Linked DNA regions of Homo sapiens: region 2 is linked to region 1. Evidence: promoter capture Hi-C in human tissues and cell types (Jung and others, 2019). All regions are on one chromosome and are shown on one strand. Each heading gives the region's core, a stretch centred on a gene start or on the middle of the fragment in contact. The rest is flanking DNA. Distances are from core to core; before and after follow the strand shown.

Evidence for each region. Contacts are between HindIII fragments. The study calls those that stand out against the background at their distance.
Region 2: a fragment that was not itself captured here is called in contact with the fragment with the promoter of SMC1B in region 1 in 1 of the 25 tissues and cell types used here (spleen).

The regions. Positions count from the first base shown.
Region 1 is chr22:45,410,593-45,415,135 of GRCh38, reverse strand. SMC1B (structural maintenance of chromosomes 1B) reads left to right here and starts at 1,537. Exons shown (of 25, transcript NM_148674.5): 1 at 1,537-1,677. The coding sequence starts at 1,569. It overlaps RIBC2 (RIB43A domain with coiled-coils 2), which reads right to left and starts at 1,443. Exons shown (of 7, transcript NM_015653.5): 1 at 1,121-1,443; 2 at 733-814. The coding sequence starts at 1,249. RefSeq lists an enhancer at 621-1,454. The HindIII fragment of the contact is 17,180 bases long and covers 1-4,543 here.
Region 2 is chr22:45,176,562-45,181,395 of GRCh38, reverse strand. It overlaps NUP50 (nucleoporin 50), which reads right to left. Exons shown (of 8, transcript NM_007172.4): 5 at 2,496-3,158; 6 at 29-110. The region is part of intron 3 of LOC105373064 (a long non-coding RNA gene); the gene reads left to right. Among named protein-coding and RNA genes, the nearest start is that of NUP50, 15 kb to the right of the region's middle. The HindIII fragment of the contact is 3,650 bases long and covers 265-3,914 here.

The DNA.
Region 1 (4,543 bases), core at 288-2,787:
TCAAGTGATCCTCTAGTTTTAGCCTCTCAAAGTGTGAAATTTCAACAATTGTTGAAATTGTTGGACACGATAGGGGAAAATAAGTTGTATTTGAAGTGGAATAATAATACCTTGAATAACAGTATTCAAGGTACTTGAATACTATGATTTGAATCATGTCTGTCTCTGAGTCAGCTTGAGGGTGTGAGCCCGGACATATGTGTTGTCTGGTATAAACAGCTGTCCTTCATAGACGGTCTTAAACTTTTGAGCAGAGCAAGTGAGTGTGTGTGTGTGTCTTTCTGTGTTTAAGGCTTTTCCTATCCAGTTTTTTAAGAAAATGAAGGAAAACATACATATACCCTTAAAATCTATTTCTTATAATCCACATTCGAATTCAATAGCTGTTTTTAAGAGAAGAATCAGTGCATTAAGTTAACTGGGCACAAGAAATTGTGAAATTTAAAAGGAAGAAGAGTGTGAAAATGACAACTTTTTATATATGTGAAGAAAGGAGGGCTGGGTACCGTGGCTCATGCCTGTAGTTCCAGCACTTTGGGAGACTGACGTGGGAGGATCACTTGCACGCAGGAGTTCCAGACCAGCCTGGGCAACATAGTGAGACCCTATCTCTATTAAATAAAAAAAATAAAAAATAAAAAAAAAAAGGCGGGGCAGGGGGACGGTGGGGAAGACTGGAGTCTAAAGCCACACAATCCTAAACCAATAGATAAGCATTCAGGAAATGCTCACCAAAGGTTTCATGTCTAGCTTTTTCAGTAGCTTCTTTTATCTTCTGGTCATGAACTTGAACATCCCAGGCTTCAGTGTCTCCCTATAAATGGAAAAACAGAGGAGAAGGGTTAGAGCCAGATCATTTTATTCAGTAATAACAATCCTACTTATTATTATTTTTAATCTCTGCCCCACTGTAAACGAGTTGTAGAAAATCTGGCTCAGGGGAGGAGAACCGTTGGTGACTCCAGGCGAGCTCGAGAGGGAGCATTATTGGCCCTGCAGGAGGCCGTTTGCTGCCTCCTGGCTCAGATGTTTCATCCTAGAACTCATCTCCTTTCCCCCTCCACGCAGCCCCTCGCCCGCATCTGCCGCTCTAACCCCGTCCCGGCCCCTGCCCTTTCACCCCAATTATCCTGTTTCTGGCGTTGAAGACCCGCTTCTGCCTGCACAGCTCCGCGTGCCTCCTCTTTGCCAGGTTGGCGTCCTGCCGCAAGTCCCTGGGCAGCGCCACCGCCATGGTCTGGGAACCCATGGAAAGCCTAAGGGGTTTTTAGAACACGCAGGATCAGGAGAACAGGCGACGAAAATAAGGAAGCTGTAGCGCAGGCAAGGTCGGCTCCTTCGGTCGGGCAGGGGAAAGACAAGCCTTTAGCGCAGTTTTCCGTCGGGCTCCCAGTGACGCCGCAGAGGTACAGACGCTCCCGCTCTCTCGGAAATGTCAACAACTCGTTGCTAAGGAACGGCTCCGCGCTTGCCGCGTCTCGCTCTCTTCTCGCGACACTTGGCGAATCCCTTCCCGCGCTTTTTCCGCGGGCGCTTGATAACGCGGGTGAGGCGTGGAGGGCGGCGCCATGGCCCACCTGGAGCTGCTGCTTGTGGAAAATTTCAAGTCGTGGCGGGGCCGCCAGGTCATTGGCCCCTTCCGGAGGTTCACCTGCATCATCGGCCCCAACGGCTCTGGTAACTGAGCAGCTCAGGGCGCCACCGGAGCGCCTCCGCCGTCCCAGGCGTCCAGGCCACACGTGGCCTGTGGGGTGTGGGCGTCTGCCGCGGGCGCCTGGCCGGCCTTCCCCTTCCAGTCCCGGAGCCTGACCGCGACCGGATCCCGGCCTGGCCCTGGCCCAGCCCCTGCCCATCACCCCACCTCAGCCCCGGTCCTCGCCGTCCACCTCAGGGGTCCCGACCCTTGTCCCTCCGCCCCACCTCGGAGGTCCTGACCCTTCCACTCGGCCCCGCCTCGGGCCCCGCTCTCGCCCTCCACCTCCTGGCTCCCGACCCTCCTCCGACACCCTGAGGGACCCCACCCCACCTCAGCTCCGGCCCTCGCCCTTCATCTCAGGGGCTCCCAACCCTCGCCCCCCACCCTGGGGGTCCTGACGCTTCCTCTCCGCCCCGGTCCCGCCCTGGGCCCTGTTCTCTGCCCTCACTCCTGCTTCGGGGACTGCTCTTGCCCTTGGCCCTGGTCACTCGCGTCCCTTTTCCCTTCTCATCCGAAGTTGAAGTGAGAGGGAGCTGTCGAGGAGGTAATGGGTTCCAAGCAGCCAGAACCACCATTTGGATCCAAGGGAGCTTTGACCCAGGAATGTAGTGATGATGACCCAGTTTACTGAGCTTTTCCTAAGTTCCTGGCGACACCGTCTTTGGTTAGCCATGGCGCATGGCTGCTCTCCCCATTTTATAGTTGGGGAAACTGAGGTCTGGAGAGGCCAGAGGACCTGCGGAGGTCTCTACTAATAATACCAAAATTAGCTGGGTGTGGTGGCACACGCCTGTAATCCCAACTACTCTGGAGGCTGAGGCGGGAGAATCGCTTGAACCTGGGAGGTGGAAGTTGCAGTGAGCCAAGGACACGCCATTGCACTCCAGCCTGGCAACACAGTGCGACTCTCGTCTCAAAAAAAAAAAAAAAAAAAAAAAAAAGGCTGGGCGCGGTGGCTCACACCTGTAATTCCAGCACTTTAGGAGGCCGAGGCGGGTGGATCATGAGATCAGGAGTTCGAGACCAGCCTGACCAACATGGTGAAGCCCTGTCTCTACTAAAAATACAAAAATTAATCGGGTGTGGTGACATGCACCTGTAATCCCGGCTACTGAGGAGGCTGAGGCAGGAGAATCGCTTGAACCCGGGAGGCAGAGGTTGCAGTGAGCCAAGATAGCACCACCGCACTCCAGCCTGGGTAACAAGAGCGAGACTTCGACTCTAAAATAAAATAAAATAAGATAAATATAAAATAAAATTGGCCGGGCGCCGTGGCTCATGCCTATAATCCCAGCACTTTGGGAGGCCGAGGCGGGCGGATCACCTTAGGTCAGGAGTTAGAAACCAGCCTGGCCAACATAGTGAAACCCCTGTCTGTACTAAAAATACAAAAATTAGCTGGGGGTGGTGTCACGTGCCTGTAATACCAGCTACTTGGGAGACTGAGGCAGGAGAATCACTTGAACCCGGGAGGCGGAGGTTGCAGTGAGCCAAGACTGTGCCACTGCATTCCAGCCTGGGCGACAGAGCAAGACTCTGTCTCAACAAAAAAATAAGGCCTGACATGGTGGCCCACACCTGTAATTCCATCACTTTGGGAGGCTGAGGCAGGCAGATCACTGGAGGTAGGGGTTCAAGACCAGCCTGGCCAACATGATGAAACCCCATCTGTACTAAAAATACAAAAAAGCCTGGCGTGGTGGCGCACGCCTGTAGTCCCAGCTACTCAGGGGACTGAGGCAGGAGAATCGCTTGAACCTGGGAGGCAGAGGCTGCAGTGAGCTGACATCACGCCACTGCACTCCAGCCTGGGCAACAACAGAACAAGACTGCATCTCAAAAATAAATAAGTAAAAATAAATAAATAAATAAAATGCACCGTTCAGTGGTTTTTAGTATATTCAAAAGTTGTGCAACCATCATCACCATCTACTTCCAAAACATTTTCATTGCCCCCAAAGAAACCTTGTACTCATTAGCAATCACTCCCTGTTATTTCCTCTCCACCTAGCTCCTGGTATCTACTAATTCACTTTCTGTCTCTATGGATTTACCTATTTGGGACATTTCGTATAAATAGAATCAGACAATATATGGCCTTTTGTGTCTGACTTCTTTCACTTAGCATAATGTTTTTCAGATTCATCTATGTTGCTCCTTGTATTAGTACTTATTTCCTTCTTATTTTCAAATAATATTTCACTGTATAGATATACTACATTTTGTTTATCCATCAGTTGATAGTTTGGGTTGTTGCCACTTTGTGGTATGTTATGCTGCCTTGACTCTCTTGACAGACTATAACCTTTATTAGGCAGGGACAATATTAATGAAATTTAATGGAATAAATGGATTTGGATGAGAAGTATTTATTTTAGGCAGATTTAAATAAGGATTGACTTATTGATTTTAAAAGTTTATGTTTAGTTTTGTTACTTAATACTTAAATTACTTAATAATTTAATTCAGTGAATGTTTATCTTGTCCATATGCACTGTCTTACAATAGCCCTCAATGTGCAGATTATCCATTAACCCAAAAAAGCCGTTTCATACCTGTTAGTTGACTGAGACTCAGCTAAATAAATTTGCAGCAATTTATTTCTAGTTCTTTTTAGAAAGACCCTAAACCTCTAAAACTAAGCCATATTTCCGGTGGCTGATAGTATTCCTTTGCTTTGTTTATGTTACTTTCCTAGTTTTGGCATTGAAAATTAATTAATTATTTCTTTTGTCTTGAGATGGAGTCTTGCTCTCTTGCCCAGGCTGGAGTACAGTGGTGTAATATCAGCTCACTGCAACCTCTGCCTTCTGGATCCAAGTGATTCTTCTGCCTCAGCCTCCCGAG
Region 2 (4,834 bases), core at 840-3,339, 230 kb after region 1:
TGCGCCAGCAGGTTGTGGGGATTCTTACTTTTTGGAGTAAAAAGCATCTTCTTCTTTTACTTCGGTAACTACTACTTTGGGTGGCTCATCATTCTCTTCTTCATCTCCACCTTTTATAAAAATGACAATAATTCAGTAAGATTCCAATCCAGAGCTTAAAGAAGTGACTGAAGTTTTGTTACGTAACACCCTAAACCTCCACCGGAGCACTCCATGTAAACTGACAGACTAAAATGCACACTTAATGGGGGGGGGGGGGGATGCCAGAAGGGAGTACCTGCAGGATTTTAACTATTTTGTGAAAAATAAGAATCCCTTTTAATGGGAACATACCTCTTAATTCTAAAATAACTTCCAATATATAGAAAACCTTAAAATGGAAAAATCTCCATGCTTATGACAGAAAAAAAAAATCAACACTCTATATGCAAATTACCCACTGGAAAATTCCATCTCGGATGAGTTTTTAACACCTTCACCCCTGAATATTCCTGTGACTACATCTACAAGTATCAGTAATAGCCAAAGATAGAAAAATACTTTTTTTTTTTTTAACAGGGGACAAGTTGTCAGAAAAATCATTCCAAAGCCCCAGTGTAAGTAATTTAAGCTTTGTCTGAATTGCCACATGGGTCACTGCTCTGGTACCAAAGGTATCCCCACTAACGGGGTCTCCCAAACACGGGAGACCTAGGCCATCATTTAAACACATGTATTAGGCTGTGTACAGTGGCTCACGCCTGTAATCCCAGCACGCTGCAGGGCCAAGGCAGGAAGATCGCTTGAGCCCAGGAGTTCAACACCAGTCTGGTCAACATGGTGAGACGCCCCCCATCTCTACAAAAAATAAAAAAGTTAACCAGGTGTGGCGGTACGTGCCTGTGGACCCAGCTACTTGGCAGACTGAAGTGGGAGGATTGCTTCACCCCAGGAGGTAGAGGCTGTAGTGAGCTATGATTGCGTCACTGCACTACTAGCCTGGGTGACAGAACGAGACCCTGTCTCAAAAAAATAAAAAACCCCACATATATAAAAGGATCCTCTTAAAGAGAACGGCAGTTGCATAAAAACTCACCAAAAAGCAATTCTAAGAAAAACAACTGTGATGCTCAGATGATTAGGTCACACGACTGTCCGTCTTATCCCTCCAATCTCCCGAGTCTTCTGATGCTTAAACTGTGATAACCAAGGGACAAGGAACAGGCGCTCACTGAGGGGCATCCTGCCTCCACTGGGACTCGATTCAAATCCCCAGTGCCTGCCTCAGGAAAGACTCCCCATTTGTTTTATTTATGGGAGGCAGAGAAGAAAGAAAAGGGGAGACCCTTATTTCACCCTGTGCCCAGAGGGCCCGTGCCTGAGGATATACTTGAAAGCAGGGCAAGGCAAAACAGTAATGGAAGTCTAGACTCCTGATAGAAAACCGTAATATTTCAGAGGCAAATTGGCAAATGCAGTTTTCTTCCTCAAGGATCAGTATGTCCATATGTCTGAGAAGTACACTTTTTCTTTTGTTGAGGCAAGGTCTGTGCTGCCCAGGCTGGAGTGCAGTGATGCAACCACGGCTCATGGCAACCTTGAACTTCTGAGCTCGAGATACTCCCACCTCAGCCTCTAGAGTAGCTGTGACTACAGGCGCCCACCACCTGGCCTGGCTAATTTTTAAAAATTTTTGTAGAGATGGGGTCTTGCTATGTTGCCCAGGCTGGTCTCAAACTCCTGGCCTCAGGTGAGCCTTCCACTTTGGCCTCCCGAAGTGCTGGGATTACAGGTGTGGGCCACCTCACCTGGCCTCACTTTCAACTGCTTAGAAGTAGGTGTCTTCACAGACATCACCTGTTCACAACCACCATGTGAGGAAGCAGCATCATGACATCACCCCACTTTTTAAGCTAACAACAGAGGTCTGGAGGGCCCAGACCTTGTGCCTTGTCTGGGGCACTGACGATACACACAGGAAACATCACTTAGACACCACTGCCACGCTCTGGAAAGGAGGCGCCTCCAAACCCACAGGAGGAAAACAATGTTGATTTCTTCTCTATGGCTATGAAAAGTCTACATTTGTAATGTATAGTCAAGTACTGTTTTGCCACATGACTTTATTTACAGTGAGATCTCCTAAGTACAAATCAATTCAGGGGACATTCATGATGAACTTGATGAACTTTTCCAAAAACACAATTTTCAAAAAACGTCTTTAATTCACTTGTTTTTTATATGCTAAACCATGTGTGTTTGAGACTTTTCAAAGTCAGGTGTTTTCAAATTCATTTTATTTTTAATCCTTATAAACAACCCTACAAAAGTCTTACTCTTTTATAAAGCAGGAATCTGAAACTCAGAGAAGCTGATTAGCTCTGTCTGAGATCACACATGGAGAGAACAACGTCTCAATGTGAATCCAGACTCATATTTGGAATCAAAGTCTCTGGGTTTCCCAAGAAACAAGAATCTTATGCAAACCTCGACTCAACGACAAAGCTGGTACTTACCTTTGCATTCACCACTGTCACCTTCTGCTTGGCCCTCCAATGGTTTAGTGGGAAATGGTGAAGAGACTGGTTTACTCTGGGTAGTATCTTTGCCAAATAAACTGGAGTTTCCAGGGGAGAAAGAAAATCCAGTCAGGGGGACAGAGCTTAATGAGCCCAAAACAGAGCTATCAACTTTCTTGCCGAAATTAAATGAGGCACTTGTCGCTCCTAGTGATGATGGGTCCGTTTTCTTTTCAGATGCCACCTCCATCTTCTTGTCAGGTGTATCTTCAGTTTTGTTGCCATGAAACAAAAACGTTGACTCTTGCTGTAATTTTGTTGAGCCAAAAAGGGAAGGAGACTGTGTTTCAGCTGCCACTTTGTTAGATTCACTTTCAGAATTCCTGCCACTGTTCCCGTGTTGCTGTTCAATGTTTGCTAAATATTTCTCATAGTCTTTAAAGATAGGTGTCAGATCACAGAGGGGGTTTGTATTCACGTGCTTCACTATCCAATCCCGCACGGAGCAGTTCAAGGCGGCCAACTGCTTGTGATAGGCATTTCCGACACAAGCTTTACTGGAAGCAAGGCCAGAGGAGGAGGGCTGCTGACTGTCCCCATTAGTTTTGGGATTTGAAACTTTATCAACCAAGGTGGTAGGGCCATTTGCAGCAAGAGAACCTATAGAAAGTTAATAATTGAACCATTTATTTAGCCTAATTTGATTAAATCATCTAGATTTTTTTGCCACTCTGCCTTCATACTTTCTGCTTTTACTGTATCTCCCCCCACACCAAGACAGTCTTGCTCTGTCACCCAGGCTGGAGTGCCGTGGCACGATCTTGGCTCACTGCAACCTCTGCCTCCCAGGTTCAAGCGATTCTCCTGCCTCAACCTCCCGAGTAGGTGGGATTACGGGCACCCGCCACCACACCCGGCTAATTTTTGTATTTTAGTAGAGATGGGGTTTCGTCATGTTGGCCAGGCTGGTCTTGAACTCCTGACCTCATGATCTGCCCGCCTCGGACTCCCAAAGTGCTGGGATTACAAGCGTGAGCCACTGCGCCCGACCTACTGTGCCCTATTTTTGTGACCGCTCAAAAAGTATGTGTTCAAGGAGTAGAATTTAGTAACCAGTTATCAGTAAAGCCGATGAATAAAGATCAAGTCAAAGTTTATACAAGAACACTAACCACCATATGCTTGCTCTACACATTTTAAAAATAATCTTTTCCTTCAAAAGGACGCCTATCTGAGATGTGATCGGGCGCGTCGAGGGTGGTGTGGCAGTAGACAAAAGGATGCCTATTTCAAACAGCACTGTTAGAACAGCAGGTCAGCATTAACACTTAATCCCCAAGGTTGTTGGGATGAACAGTATTAAAGTACAGTCGCCCCTCTGTACCTGCAGGTTCTACACCTGTGAAATGCAGTCCTCAGCCAGGTGTGGTGGCTCACGCATGTAATCCCAACACTTTGGGAGGCTGAGGTGGGCAAATCGCTTGAGCTCAGGAGTTTGAGACCAGCCTGGGCAACATGGCAAAACCCCATCTCTACAAAAAATGTAAAAATTAGCTGAGTGTGGTGGTGTGTACCTATAATCCCAGCTACTGGGGAGGCTGATGGGGGAGGATCACTTGAGCTCGGGAGGTTGTGGCTGCAGTGAGCCAAGACCACACCAATACACTCCAGCCTAGGTGACAGAGCGAGACCCTGTCTCAATGCAGTACTCTGGGGATGAGAAACCAGTGGATACGAACACTCACTTTTCCTATCTAAGAGTTATGCTGGTCTGACTATGGGACTTGAACATCCAAGGGGGTGCTGAAACCAATCCCCAGGATACTAGGGGATGGCTGTAGTTAAAAATCTTAACAGAGGCCGGGCACAGTGGCTCGCGGATGTAATCCCAGCACTTTGGGAGGCCAAGGCAGGTGGATCACAAGGTCAAGAGATCAAGACCATCCTGGCCAACATGGTGAAACCCCGTCTCTACTAAAATTACAAAAATTAGCTGGGCATGGTGGTGCATGCCTGTAGTCCCAGCTACTCGGGAGGCTGAGGCAGGAGAATCGCTTAAACCCAGAGGCGGAGGCTGCAGTGAGCAGAGGTCGCGCCACTGCATTCCATCCTGGTGACAGAGCAAGACTCCAACTTAGAAAAAACAACAACAACAACAAAACTTAACAGAGAACACTTATTTTACATCACACTAAACATTCTGCCAAATTAAAATCAAACAGTATATACTCTCAGAATAATCAGCTAAATACAACCCAACCAGTCAGGATCATTTCCAAGCTTTTAACCCGTGATCCTATTCTCTGTTGCTAATTCCAAGAGTTTTTGACTGACTC